Linked DNA regions of Homo sapiens: all the other regions are linked to region 1. Evidence: promoter capture Hi-C in 16 types of primary human blood cells and fetal thymus (Javierre and others, 2016). All regions are on one chromosome and are shown on one strand. The core of a region is centred on a gene start or on the middle of the fragment in contact, and the rest is flanking DNA. Distances in the headings are between cores, read along the strand shown.

Evidence for each region. Contacts are between HindIII fragments. The CHiCAGO score rates a contact against its expected background, and 5 or more counts as called.
Region 2: a fragment that was not itself captured here is called in contact with the fragment with the promoter of IFNGR1 in region 1 in 2 of 17 cell types (fetal thymus and M1 macrophages); the score reaches 5.9 in fetal thymus.
Region 3: a contact is called between a fragment that was not itself captured here and the fragment with the promoter of IFNGR1 in region 1, in 1 of 17 cell types (monocytes). The highest score is 5.8, in monocytes.
Region 4: a fragment that was not itself captured here is called in contact with the fragment with the promoter of IFNGR1 in region 1 in 1 of 17 cell types (monocytes); the score reaches 5.4 in monocytes.

The regions. Positions count from the first base shown.
Region 1 is chr6:137,217,583-137,220,660 of GRCh38, reverse strand. IFNGR1 (interferon gamma receptor 1) reads left to right here and starts at 1,276. Exons shown (of 7, transcript NM_000416.3): 1 at 1,276-1,418. The coding sequence starts at 1,334. RefSeq lists enhancers at 806-1,055, 906-1,636, 3,077-3,078 and silencers at 1,096-1,325, 1,366-1,585, 2,046-2,095. The HindIII fragment of the contact is 10,215 bases long and covers 1-3,078 here.
Region 2 is chr6:137,733,292-137,736,318 of GRCh38, reverse strand. The region is part of intron 1 of LINC02539 (long intergenic non-protein coding RNA 2539); the gene reads left to right. Among named protein-coding and RNA genes, the nearest start is that of LINC02539, 4.2 kb to the left of the region's middle. The HindIII fragment of the contact is 212 bases long and covers 1,563-1,774 here.
Region 3 is chr6:137,755,348-137,758,421 of GRCh38, reverse strand. No RefSeq gene overlaps it. Among named protein-coding and RNA genes, the nearest start is that of LINC02539, 18 kb to the right of the region's middle. The HindIII fragment of the contact is 721 bases long and covers 1,082-1,802 here.
Region 4 is chr6:137,815,316-137,818,385 of GRCh38, reverse strand. No RefSeq gene overlaps it. Among named protein-coding and RNA genes, the nearest start is that of TNFAIP3, 50 kb to the left of the region's middle. RefSeq lists enhancers at 2,122-2,211, 2,542-2,591. The HindIII fragment of the contact is 7,180 bases long and covers 1-3,070 here.

The DNA of each region.
Region 1 (3,078 bases), core at 27-2,526:
ATAGTGGACATCAGAAACACATCAAAGGAAATATTCTCCCTAAACTTAGTCTAGATTGAGCTAAATTCTTCTGATTCAAAGTGTGGTCCTGTTGAAAGGGGCACCAGCATCCCCTGTGCATTTTGTCCGAAATACAAAATCTCAAGACCCAACCTGAATTAGAACTACTGAATCCAAATCTGCATTTTATCAAGATCCCCAGATGGTTCACATGTATGTTGAAGTTTGAGAAGTACTGAGCTAAGAGATTTATTAATACAAGTAAAATGATCTGGCTGATAATACCTCTAGTTTATATAGTGTCTTTATAAGGATTTTCCCTCTTTAAAAATTTTCCTTAACACTAGTAATCATGCAGTCTTTCACTCAACAAATACTAATTGAGTGCCAAGTAAAGATGTCAGCTCTACGGAGCTTACATTTTAGAAGGAGAAGAAAACAAATATCAAGGTGTATATTATAGTGTACAGCAAGGTGAAAAGTGCCATGAAAAAACAGTAGGGCGGGGTAAGGAGGAGGAGAAGGTGTGTTGCAATTTAAAATTTTTAACAAAAGTTCATGATACTCAGAGAATTGAAACAGGTGAGATCATTAGACATTCGCATGTTTGAGCACAAGCGCTGAAGGACTTAGCAATGTGGCTGCAGTGGAATAGGAGAGATGCAAAATAACAGACAAACCCAGAGAGGTAAGAGAGCAGACCTCTTCATGAGAGGCTGCCTGATAAACTGATTTGACACTGAATTGCTGAGAAGGTAATGCAAATAGTTTTTTTCTCCAAGAACAAAGTAGTTCTTGGTCAAGCCGATTTGATTTGGGCTGTGGGAATCTGCACAAACCATTTCACTAGCTAAGTCTCAGGTTCCTCAAATGAAAAAGCAGGGACTGGAAATGGCTTTTGAAGTCTCATTCTCTTCTAAAAATGTCAGGCTCCAAGACAACCAGGTGAAGTCCAAGAGTTAGTAAAATAAGGATTGTGGCTCGGCTGTGGCCTAATGCAAACTTGCACAACCCCAGGAAACCGAAAAAAACTGGAAGAAGAATTGCAGAATGGGGTGCCAGGTTGAAAGACCTTAACCTTTGCACTCAAATTCCTCCCACACCCAGAAGTCCAGGTCCCGACCGCACGACGCCGTGCTCACTGCTGGGTGCTGCGCCTGAGTCCGCCTCCTGCGGCTTCCCGGACTTGACCCCGCCCACGCCCTGGTCCCGCCTCCTGCCGACGCCGGCACAGACCCCGGTGACGGAAGTGACGTAAGGCCGGGGCTGGAGGGCAGTGCTGGGCTGGTCCCGCAGGCGCTCGGGGTTGGAGCCAGCGACCGTCGGTAGCAGCATGGCTCTCCTCTTTCTCCTACCCCTTGTCATGCAGGGTGTGAGCAGGGCTGAGATGGGCACCGCGGATCTGGGGCCGTCCTCAGGTACCGTCGTTCGCGGCAGGGCTGCGGCCGGGTCGGGACGAGAGGGAGGGAGGGATCCGCCCCAGCCGGGAAGCCCCGCCCCGCTTCTCCGAGGTCGCCCTAGCCCGGGACCCCTGCGTCGGGCCCTGAGCGGGCGACGGGGACGCGAGGTGGGGTCGCGAGACTGGGGCTCCGTGGTTTGAACTCGTCGGTTGCCTTTCTCCTGCCTCTTCCCTGGTTGCCGCCACAACAAATCACGCCGCTTGTTTTTCCGACTCTTGTAATCCACTTTTAAATACGATTATGCGCTGCAGAAGGACGTTGCTGGTCAATGTGGGACAGCGTGGTCTCAAAGATTATAATATCGTCTTCTTACTGTACCTTTTTTTATGGTTAGATACGCAGATACTCACTAGTATGCTACGGTTGCCTGCAGTGTTCAGTGCAGTGACAGGCTGTACAGGTTCATGACCTAAGAGCAGTAGGCTGTGTCATCTGGGTTTGTCTGGGTTTCTACTGCCCGAAGAAATTGCCTAAGGGGACATTTCTCCATTTCTCAGAACGGATCTCCATCGTTAAGTGACGCATGACTGTGAGTGTCCTGATCAGCATGTGGCATCGTGGTCTCAGTTCGTGGCTTAAATACTTCTTTCTTAGCGGGGGTGGGGGGGGGGACTCAAAGTGCTTAGGGTAGGAAAGTATGCATTATGTCGCCAGCTGAGAAGTAAGTGGCAGCTGAGAAGTAAGTGGCAGTCCGTCTTAGGTCTCAGTCTGGAAGTGGTGGATTGCCGGCACTCACTAGCAGATTTGGCAGTAGGTCTCTTCGTACGGGTTTGTTCTTCGGAGCATTTTATTTCCACCTGCTTATTGACATTTCCTAGAAAACAAATGTTGAGGGTGGCTTTTCTGAAGTGCAGAGTAATTGTGATTACGAGCTCCAGAGAAAACAGTAAACCTTTTCAATTCAGTTTTCTTTTTTTTATTATGATTTATGATTCATAGGGACTTTGAAAGGTCCACGTTTTGGTTCTGTGTTCACAACAATCTTCTGGAGTAGGCGTTATTTGTCTCTCTCTTTATGGACGAGAAATTGAGTTACGGAGAGGCCTGCCCAACTGGCAGAGAGGTCATAGCCACTCAGTGGGGAGCTGCTCAATTTGGCTCCAGAGTCCAAGTTCTTAACTGCTCTTCTAGGCTCTAGTCAGTCATCCACATGGGCAGTTGCAGTACTTTGCGGTAAGAGCTTGCACTTAGGCACAGACTAGTGGAAAGCAAGGCGGGGTGCTTGTCTCTTTTAGGGAAGTCAGTGAAGACTTCACAAAGGTGACCCCAGTGTTGGAACCAGAGGTGCAGAGACTGAGGTGCAGAGGTGTGATAGCATGTTGAATTCGTGGAATATTAAGCGTTCTATTGTAAAGTGTGTGTGAGAGCTTACAAGGGGAGGAGATAGGTTAGGTGGAGAAGTAGGAACCAAATAATGAATTGCCATATTATGTGTACCAGCAAGAAACCTAGCTTTATTAACTTAAGCAAAAAGAGGAATTTATTGTCTCAGAAAAACCAGAGTTAAACAGAAAATTATAGATGCCAGCTGGGTCTCAAGAGGCTAGAACCAGGAACCCAAACTGCTAGGACTCTCCATTTCTTATTTCTGTCTGGGTATTGACAGCTTTCCACACTT
Region 2 (3,027 bases), core at 419-2,918, 520 kb before region 1:
CAGCTGGGCTGTGTCTTCTGCATCAAAGGAAATGAGATTGTTCTTATAAAGATTTTAGAACCTAGGTGTCTTGACTGCTTGGATTTGGCATATTTAGATAAGGCTGTTTCCCATCCTCCCCAGGCATGGCTCCTTCCTCTCCACGCCCCAAAGCACCTCGATTATTTACTGCTTTCTCTGGCCATATCCACAGTGCAGGGTTTACACATTTTGTCCTCATGAGATTATGGACTCCATGAGTCCAGGGACAGTATCTTATTAGGCATTGGCCTCTGCAGCACTTAATCCAGCGCCTGGGACTTCAGAAGAAATTCGTAAGTGAATGAATGAGTGAATATTGAACGTGTAACTATCAAAGGGAATTCACGGGAACTTTTGTTTCTCATTGGACTGGAAAGGATTCTTCTTAGTGCTCAAGCATCTCTTTTGTTGGCCATTGAAACTGCATTAGGAAGACATTGTATTAACTGAGGCATAGCCAGAGGAACAGATCCAGAGAAGAGACATTGCCATGAGTCAAACCTAGGTACTTTTTTAGACAACAAAGGGTAACACCAGAGTTAGTAGTAAGGTAGACTAGACAGACTACCTTATTACAAAAGCATAAAATGAAGACATAATTGTTAGTTGTGAGCATGTTGCTTTAGAATATAAGTGAAAATGTTGGCAAATTGTATTTATATTGGATAAGATCCTCAGACTATTTTCCCAAATATATTGTCACATTTTCATGACTCAATATAGCATATCCGTGGGGTTGACTCAGGAGTATCATGATGTGGTAGAAAGATTCTTACCTCAATATGTACCTCCACCACTATCTTGTGGGTGGTTTTTGAATGAAGCATTTAAGTGCTCTGGGCTTAATTTTTGTTATAGAAAACAAATAGAATAGGTGAAGTGGTGCCTCGGCCTTTCAAAGTGCTGAGATTACAGGTGCAAGCCACTGCGCCGGGCCAAAATATTAATATTAGTTAGAAATTAATTAGATACTGTATATCACAATGATGTTCTCATCACGATTTGCTGAAAAACAGTTTGTAAGGGCTGATAGGAGGGGACTACTTCTCTCTCCAGCCGTGAGAACCCCAGAAGCCTTTATTTACAACCCTGGAGGGAAAAGTGATAAACCCATCACAAGGAGGAAGTAGGGAAGAGAGCTGGAGGGGGAAAGCAGTCATTCATATTTGATTTCTTCCACGTAATTGTTCCTCTACCATGACCCATAGAGCCAGGAGGAAGTGTGGAGGAGACAGAGATGAGTTACCAATGTATTTGAACAAACTGAAATGCACAGTTCCCTGTCCTTTCTGTCTCCCGTTATTACCCCAGTGTTCCCAATTGTGCAACAGCGTGACCTTACATCAGACAGAAAAAAGAGGGAGTTTGGCAATAACGTGAGAAAAGCTTCTGATGCAAACATAATTCCTTTTGCTTTACAGAAACATATAAATTATGTACAAAAATTATTTATGCTCTAACTTGAGCATTCAGTTCCATTGATACACAGTATATGCTACCAACGTCTGCTAAAAAATAAGATTTTGCAGGCTTTCTAAGCTTGTTTAATAATGAGGAAGATGGTAAGGCTTGGCTTTTCCCTGTAAGAATGCTGAAACAGGTTCGGATAAAAAACAAACCAACACAAATCAAACAACTTTCTCTTTCCTCTGTGTTTCTCCTCTTCCACAGCTTTGGATTCTTCCAGAATACTTGTTACCTCAGATTAGGGTGGGATGCCTTTGAGATAGCCCCACACGGGGTAAACTAAGCTTTTGATGGTTTTATATAGCAGGCCCTGGGCTAGCTGTTTGCATGCATGATCTCATGATTGCCATGCAAATATTTATATGCGATGAAGTCTCCTTGATTGGAGCCATACTCTTATCTTCTTGTCCATCTCTCCCTAATTATGATGTGTCATGGGAATTTTGCAACTAATTCAGAATTTTTTTCAGAGGGAACCTGGGTTCTGCATATGCTCTTTGTGGATAAATTCTCCCTGAAATTCCAGAAAGTCCAAAATTGAATTGCCTGGTATATGGTTGCCTTGGCATATGATCTGTGAACAAACTGGTTTTATCTGGTGTGTTGTTTAGAGTGTCAATGAGGTTGTATAGTAGGTAGCAGATGTAGGAAGAAGGCAATTTGATGAATGGCAGCTATAAAATGAAACAAGGAAGGAACATCACTAAATTTGTGTTCAACTTACTTCTGCCATTTGAGGGGCCCTAGGTTGGAAGTGACAACAAACTGATAGGGTCAAGGAAATGGATTGCTAAGTTTAGAAGTGTCGGCCGGGCACAGTGGCTCATGCCTGTAATCCAAGCACTTTGGGAGGCCAAGGCGGGCGGATCATGAGGTCAGGAGATCGAGACCATCCTGGCTAACACGGTGAAACCCCGTCTCTACTAAAAATACAAAAAATTAGCCGGGCGAGGTGATGGGCGCCTGTAGTCCCAGCTACTCGGGAGGCTGAGGCAGGAGAATGGCGTGATCCTGGGAGGCAGAGTTTCCAGTGAGCCGAGATCGTGCCACTGCACTCCAGCCTCGGTGACAGAGCAAGACTCCATCTCAAAAAAAAAAAAAAAAGTGTCAAGGTTGACTAGAGTTCTTTCTGAATAAAAAAAGCTTTACCACACCATCAGCATTGACTGAAAGTGGAAAAGAGACAGAATTGGACAAGTGCCCAGAGAAAAATGGATTTTGTACATACTTTACAAGCTAATATAGACCATTCCTTGCAAAACCCCTCCTTTGAGAAGAATCACACATGCTCCTCCATCCCCCTGATTTGATTTATTTGTATTGTCTTAACAATTTCTCTTTCTTTCTTCCTTTCTTGCTCGCTCATTTGCTTGCTTGCTTGCTTTCTTCCCTTCTTTTTCTTCTTTTTCTTTCTTTTCTTTTCTTTTTTTTTTTTTTTTTTTTTTTGACTGGGTCTCACTCACTCTGTCGCCCAGGCTGGAGTGCAGTGGTGTGATCTCAGCTCACTGCAACTTCCGCTTCCTGGGTTCAAGCAATTCT
Region 3 (3,074 bases), core at 193-2,692, 540 kb before region 1:
GAAAAAGGAAAGATAAAAGCCACCAAGAACAGATAGTGTAATATAAAACACTGTCCTCACCCCATTCACCTGCTCAATTATATTGTCTTGTGAATATTTCACTGTGTTAATTTTGCCTCTAGTAATAGATTAAAAGCTCCATGATGGCAGGGCTCATGCATCCTGCATCTCTCCTCAATCCCCCAAAACTCAGCAAGTGTCCTTTCCACAGTTTATTCAGTGTCACATTTTTTTTGCATTTTTTTTCCTGTGGATGATTTCACTATTTAAAATGGACCCTGAGCATAGTGCTGAAGTACTGCCTAGTGATCCTAAGCTCAAAAAGGCTGTGATGTGCCTAACAGAAAATATCTGTGTTAGAGAAGCTTAGTTCAGGCATGAGTTATAGTATAGTTTGCCATGAGTTCAATATTAATGAGTGAAAAATATATATTAAATAAGGTGACTTTAAATAGAAACACACATGAAACAAGATTTTTTATATATATATATGTTCATTGACAGAAATGTTGTGACCAGAGGCTCGCAAGAACCTAACCCTGTATTTCTCCTGGGAGCAATGGCTCAGTATTTGCTAATGTAGTGTTCATAGAGACTGTATAGAATGTGACTACTGCAGATAATAAGGATCAGCTGTATGTGTTTGCAGAACCATGTGAAAGTAAGTTACAGTCTTTGTAACAACTCACCCCTACATCTTCAGCTATCTCTGTTATCAATGTTAATTTTCAGTGATGTTTATTTTTACTGATGGGCACAATATAATAAACTAGGCAGAGAATTACATTTAGATTTAGACACAACTGTGAATAAACCCATGTTCTACCTCTGAGCAAATAATAATCTAGTTGATCTTTAGTTTTCTTACCTCTAAAACAAAAAAAAACACCTGAATTTGTTTTGGTGGTTAAAATGAGATCATGCATAAGCCTGGCCTACAGGAGATATTTAATGAATAGTAAATATCACCGTAATTGACACTCAACAATAGTCGATTTCTCAAGATAGGTCTAATTGGGTATTAAGAGTAGAAGCAGGTAATCTCTCTAGTCATTTCTCCATGCTCATTTCAATGGAAGCTTCGGTATGTGGCATTTGGACTTCTCACCTGATACCACATCTCTGAGATCTTCAGAACAGGTTAGCCTGAGCACCCTACCAGAGCAGAATAGAGGAATCCAACCAAAATCAGTTTATTATAATTAATGCAGGCCATCTTGGACATCACTAGAATATTAAGAAAAATACTGCTCTGAGGGCACCTTTCTCCCTTTTTTCCACCCCAAAGGAAGGATTTTAACTATACCCATCAGAAGCTATGAATCAGTGACACAGAATTTTATCTAGCATCAATGATTGTGTTTTATAAGAATTTTGTTTTAGCTGGGTGTGGTGGTGCATGCCTATAGTTCCAGCTATCTGGGAGGCTGAGTCAAGAGGATCGCTTGAGCCCAGGAGGTTGAGGTTGCAGTGAGGTACGATGGAGCCACGGCACTCCAGCCTGTGTGACAGAGCAAGACTTAGTCAAAAAAAAAAAAAAAAAAAAAAAAAAACCCAACAAAGAAACAAAGAAGGAATTTTGTTGATATAAAAACTATGTTTCTGATACTGCAACTGAATCATTTCTTGCTTCTATCAGATTTTGATGCCCACAGAGAAATTAAGTTTTTTTTGTTTTTTCTTTAACTGAATCAACTTTTGTGTGTTGATAGAGGTAACTTAAGAGTTATTTAAATAAAAGTTTTTGAGAATACTTAATTCCATAAAAAATAGTGAATATCACTTTCTAATAGTGTCAAGCTTTTTCTTTTCGATTTGGTAAAACTGAATTGGATATTTTGTATAATGTAAGTTTACATTACACTTTATATAAATACAATTTTCTTTTTTTTTTTCTTTTCTTTTTTTTTTTCGTTTTGGAGACAGAGTCTTGCTCTGTCGCCAGGCTGGAGTACAGTGGTGCAATCTCAGCTCACTGCAACCTCTGCCTCCCGGGTTCAAGCGATTCGCCCGCCTCAGTCTCCTGAGTAGCTGGGACTACAAGCGCACACCACCACGCCTGGCTAATTTTTTGTATTTTAGTAAAGACGGGGTTTCACCTTGTTGGTCAAGATGGTCTCGATCTCCTGACTTCATGATCTGCCCACCTCAGTTTCCCAAAGTTCTGGGATTGAAGGCATTATCTCCCAGGTGTGGTCCTGATTTCCAGTCTGTATGTCTAACTGTCTACTTGGAATGTCCACTTAGATGTCTGACCATCTTTACCCCATCAATCCCAAACCATCTCTCCACTGCTCTTCCTTATCTTAGCAAATGACATTGCCTTACCTATCAGCCTATGGCTCAGGTCTAACATCTGGGAATCATCTCTGATCTCTTTCTTCCCTCATATCTAATTCTTTGGGAAGTCCTGTCCTCTCTGCCTCCAAAATATATCCCCAATCCAACCACATCTCACCTGCTCCATCGCTGAGGATCACCTGAGCAACCTTTCACCTGAATGACTCCCACAGTGTCCTACCTGGTCTGCCTGCTTCCAGCCTTTCTCCACCCGTGAGAACTCACCTTCATTCTTCATACAGCACACAGAATAGTCTTTCTGAAAATTACATTTCATCATATGACTCTCCTGCTTAAAACCCTCCCATCATTTCCCATTGTAATTAAAATAAAATCTAAGCTCAATTTGGGCCTTCAAGGGCTTACTTGAATTGACTCCACCAATACCTAGGACCTAGCCTATACCCTCCTCTGCCACTCATAACATGCCACTTATAACACTTCTTTCGTGTCCCTCATTGGCTTTTCTTTGTCTCTGGAAACGTTAAATTTGTTCTGGTCCCAAGGCCTTTGCTGTTTGCCACTCCCTCTGGCTGGAGTCCTTGTTCACAAGATCTTAACCCACTCTGACTTCCTTTCCATCAATCAGCACTCAGACAAAATGTCATCTCCTAAGAGAGGCCTTCTGAGGAGGCAGTTGGAGAAGTCCAACTGCTTAGCTAGAGGAGCTAGCCCTTGCCCCAAGATACTCTCTACCTTATTACTATTGTATTTTTTCAATAGAATATCACTTT
Region 4 (3,070 bases), core at 466-2,965, 600 kb before region 1:
CAGGCCACGTGTTCCCTTCTTGCCACTCAGATGGAATTAGACTCTCAGGTATCATACGTATCCCCAAACAGAAATTGAGGGGCTGCTGGAGAGGGAAACATGGAGAATGGATGTCCACATTACTCGACAAGCAAGAACAGGTTAATCGGTTAAAAGTTTACCATTACAGGCCAGGCGCAGTGGCTCACGCCTGTAATCCCAGCACTTTGGGAGGCTGAGGCAGGTGGATCACCTGAGGTCTGGAGTTCGAGACCAGCTGACCAACATGGTGAAATCCCATCTGTACTAAAAATAAAAATATTAGCTGAGCATGGTGGTGGGTGCCTGTAATCCCAGATACTTGGGAGGCTGAGGTAGGAGAATCACTTGAACCTGGGAGGCAGAGGTTGCAGTGAGCCAATATCGCACAATTACACACCAGCCTGGGCAAAAAGAGCAAAACTCCTTCTCAAAAAAAAAAAAAAAAAAAAAAAAAGAAAGGAAAAGTTTACCATTACAAGCAAGCAAACAGAATTTGGAAAATCCCCTCCCAATTCTACCTAGTTTATGTCACTAGAGATGAGGTTAGACTCAGTTTAGGAGGCTAGACTGAGTTAATATTCTTTGTGGGACAAATTTGAGATTTCCTAAGCGTGGGAGGAATCTCCTAAGAGAATTCAGGAGAGAGCAACCAAACAAGATGCTGACCTTAAGAATCAAGAGATTGTTGCCTCTTCACTTTTCCTGTGGATATAACTTACCAGAGTTTACTTGGTGGGTACACCAGACACTGCTTCTTCTTCATCTCCAGGGATTTATTGTCCCAGTTAGGCAGCCACGTAGAGAGGCTGTGAGTTGCAGCCCGTGGCCAGGAACACAGGCGTTTCCCCAGGCGGCTCCTGCCAAAGTGGAGATTGTCCCCTAGAGAGGCCCACTCTGATAACTGGTTCCTCTCCATGCCCTTCCCCATCCCTGTATTACTAACCCAGTGCTCACCCCCTGGTGGAATACTGTTTAATTTGGCCATCCGTCATTCTATAATGCAGGGAATGGGTTGCTACCGGTAGGTCCTGGGAAGTGGTGCAGTTTCCTGGGTTATGCATGAAGTTGGCCTATCTGCCAGAGAGGGTAATTCCATCCCCAAGATCTTAGGCTCCTTTCTTCTTCTCAGCATAAAGGAAGCACTCTCATTTTCTAATACCTCAGCCTAAGAAAGTAATAGAGGTGATCATTATTTTCATGACCACAGCTGGCTCCTCAGAACAGTATTGTTCCTTTGGAGCAGCATTAATTAATCAGCCATGACACTCTCTGAGGATGAAATATGACCACCTTTCCATGCATGCTCTAGGCCCTGCCTGCTTTGCCAACTCCATTTCTCTCCCATTTCCCTCCCCGTTTTCCTTTCCATTTCAGTCACACTGGTCTTTAAGTTGCTAAAATAATCCAAAGTCTTTTCTTCCTTAGGGTCTGAAACTGCTCGGATTCAAATTCTGCCTTCACCACTTAGTAGCTGTGTGACAAGGGCAAGTTACTTAACCCTTCTGTGCTTCATCTTATACCTCTGTTAAGCAGGGTTAACAGTAGTTCCTACATAGGGTTGTGTTAGGATTAAAGAATATAACATGTGTAAAGTTCTTAGAATGTTACTGGGTCATAGTAATGTCTCAAAATATTAACTCCTCCTCCTCTTTGTACCACCCCCATCCTCCCCAATAAATTTCTTCTAAAAACCCCTCCCCTCCCTTTTTCCAAGTCTGGATTTCTAATATGTCCTATTAATAGTTATTATTATAAACTGTCATGAGCTTGGAGACCTTTTCTGACCCTCTGATCGAAAGTAGCTCCTTTGTTATTTTCTCTCACACCTCTCTGCCTGTTTCCTTCATAGCACTTATCTCAATTTGTGGTTGTGTATTTATTTGCTTTTATTTCTTGGTCATCATCTTTCTCCATGACTAGGCTGAAAATTTCATGGTCAGAGTCCTTGGCGGTTTCACTCATCCCTGTGCACGTTGTAGGCATCTACACAGAGCAGGCAATCAGTACATATTTAAGAATGAAAGCCTACCTCCTCTGAGCAGTCAGCAGCCTACAAAGGGAAACTGAAATTCTGAATTCGAACTCTGTAATATACTGGAGCAGAAGCCACATTGCTGGGCATCAGTGCTGGGTGTCCTCATTGTGGTTGGCATGAGGGGGTAGGGGAAGGAAGCGCTCCTCCTACTTAAAAGAGAATGCCGTGTCACTTGGACATCTGCAGCTTTCCTGAGCCTCAGCTGTGGAAGTACATGGAAGGGGCAAACAGGAGACACTGCTGGCCAGCCAGTGGCCAGGAGAAGCCATGGGCCAGCTTAGAGGAGGGATGTTATGCAGCAGTACCTGGGAGACACCTTGTAGGGACCTCAAGAAATATTTGAAAGATACCTTACAGGGTATTAAAGGTCCACCATCCCCAGGCTATGGAAAAAACCAGGGAAATTTGAGTTGGGGTGGTTCCTGTTATCTGTACAGTCTGGTAAGGCCAGGGGAAACTTGAATGACAGTATTCATACTATCATGGCCAGGACTCAACCCCGTGCACAGAGTTGACAGAGAGAAATATTCCAGTGAAGGCCCATACCAGTCACTGGGGAAGAAAGAACAGTTATCAATACTCCCATATCACTACCTGTGCAGCCTCCACCAGAGGCTTTGACCTTAACAGGCTGCAGGGAGTATTGGTGGGGAAAATGAATCATTTTCTTTCTTTTTTTTTTTTTTTGAGACGGAGTCTCGCTTTGTCGCCCAGGCTGGAGTGCAGTGGCGCGATCTCGGCTCACTGCAAGCTCCGCCTCCCGGGTTCACGCCATTCTCCTGCCTCAGCCTCCCGAGTAGCTGGGACTACAGGCGCTCGCCCCCATGCCCGGCTAATTTTTTGTATTTTTAGTAGAGACAGGTTTCACTGTGTTAGCCAGGATGGCCTCGATCTCCTGACCTCGTGATCTGCCCGCCTCGGCCTCCCAAAGTGCTGGGATTATGGGCGTGAGCCACCGCCCCCGGCCCGCTCTAATTAGTTTTGAGATTTCCAGCCTCCTCTAGGTGATGGCTG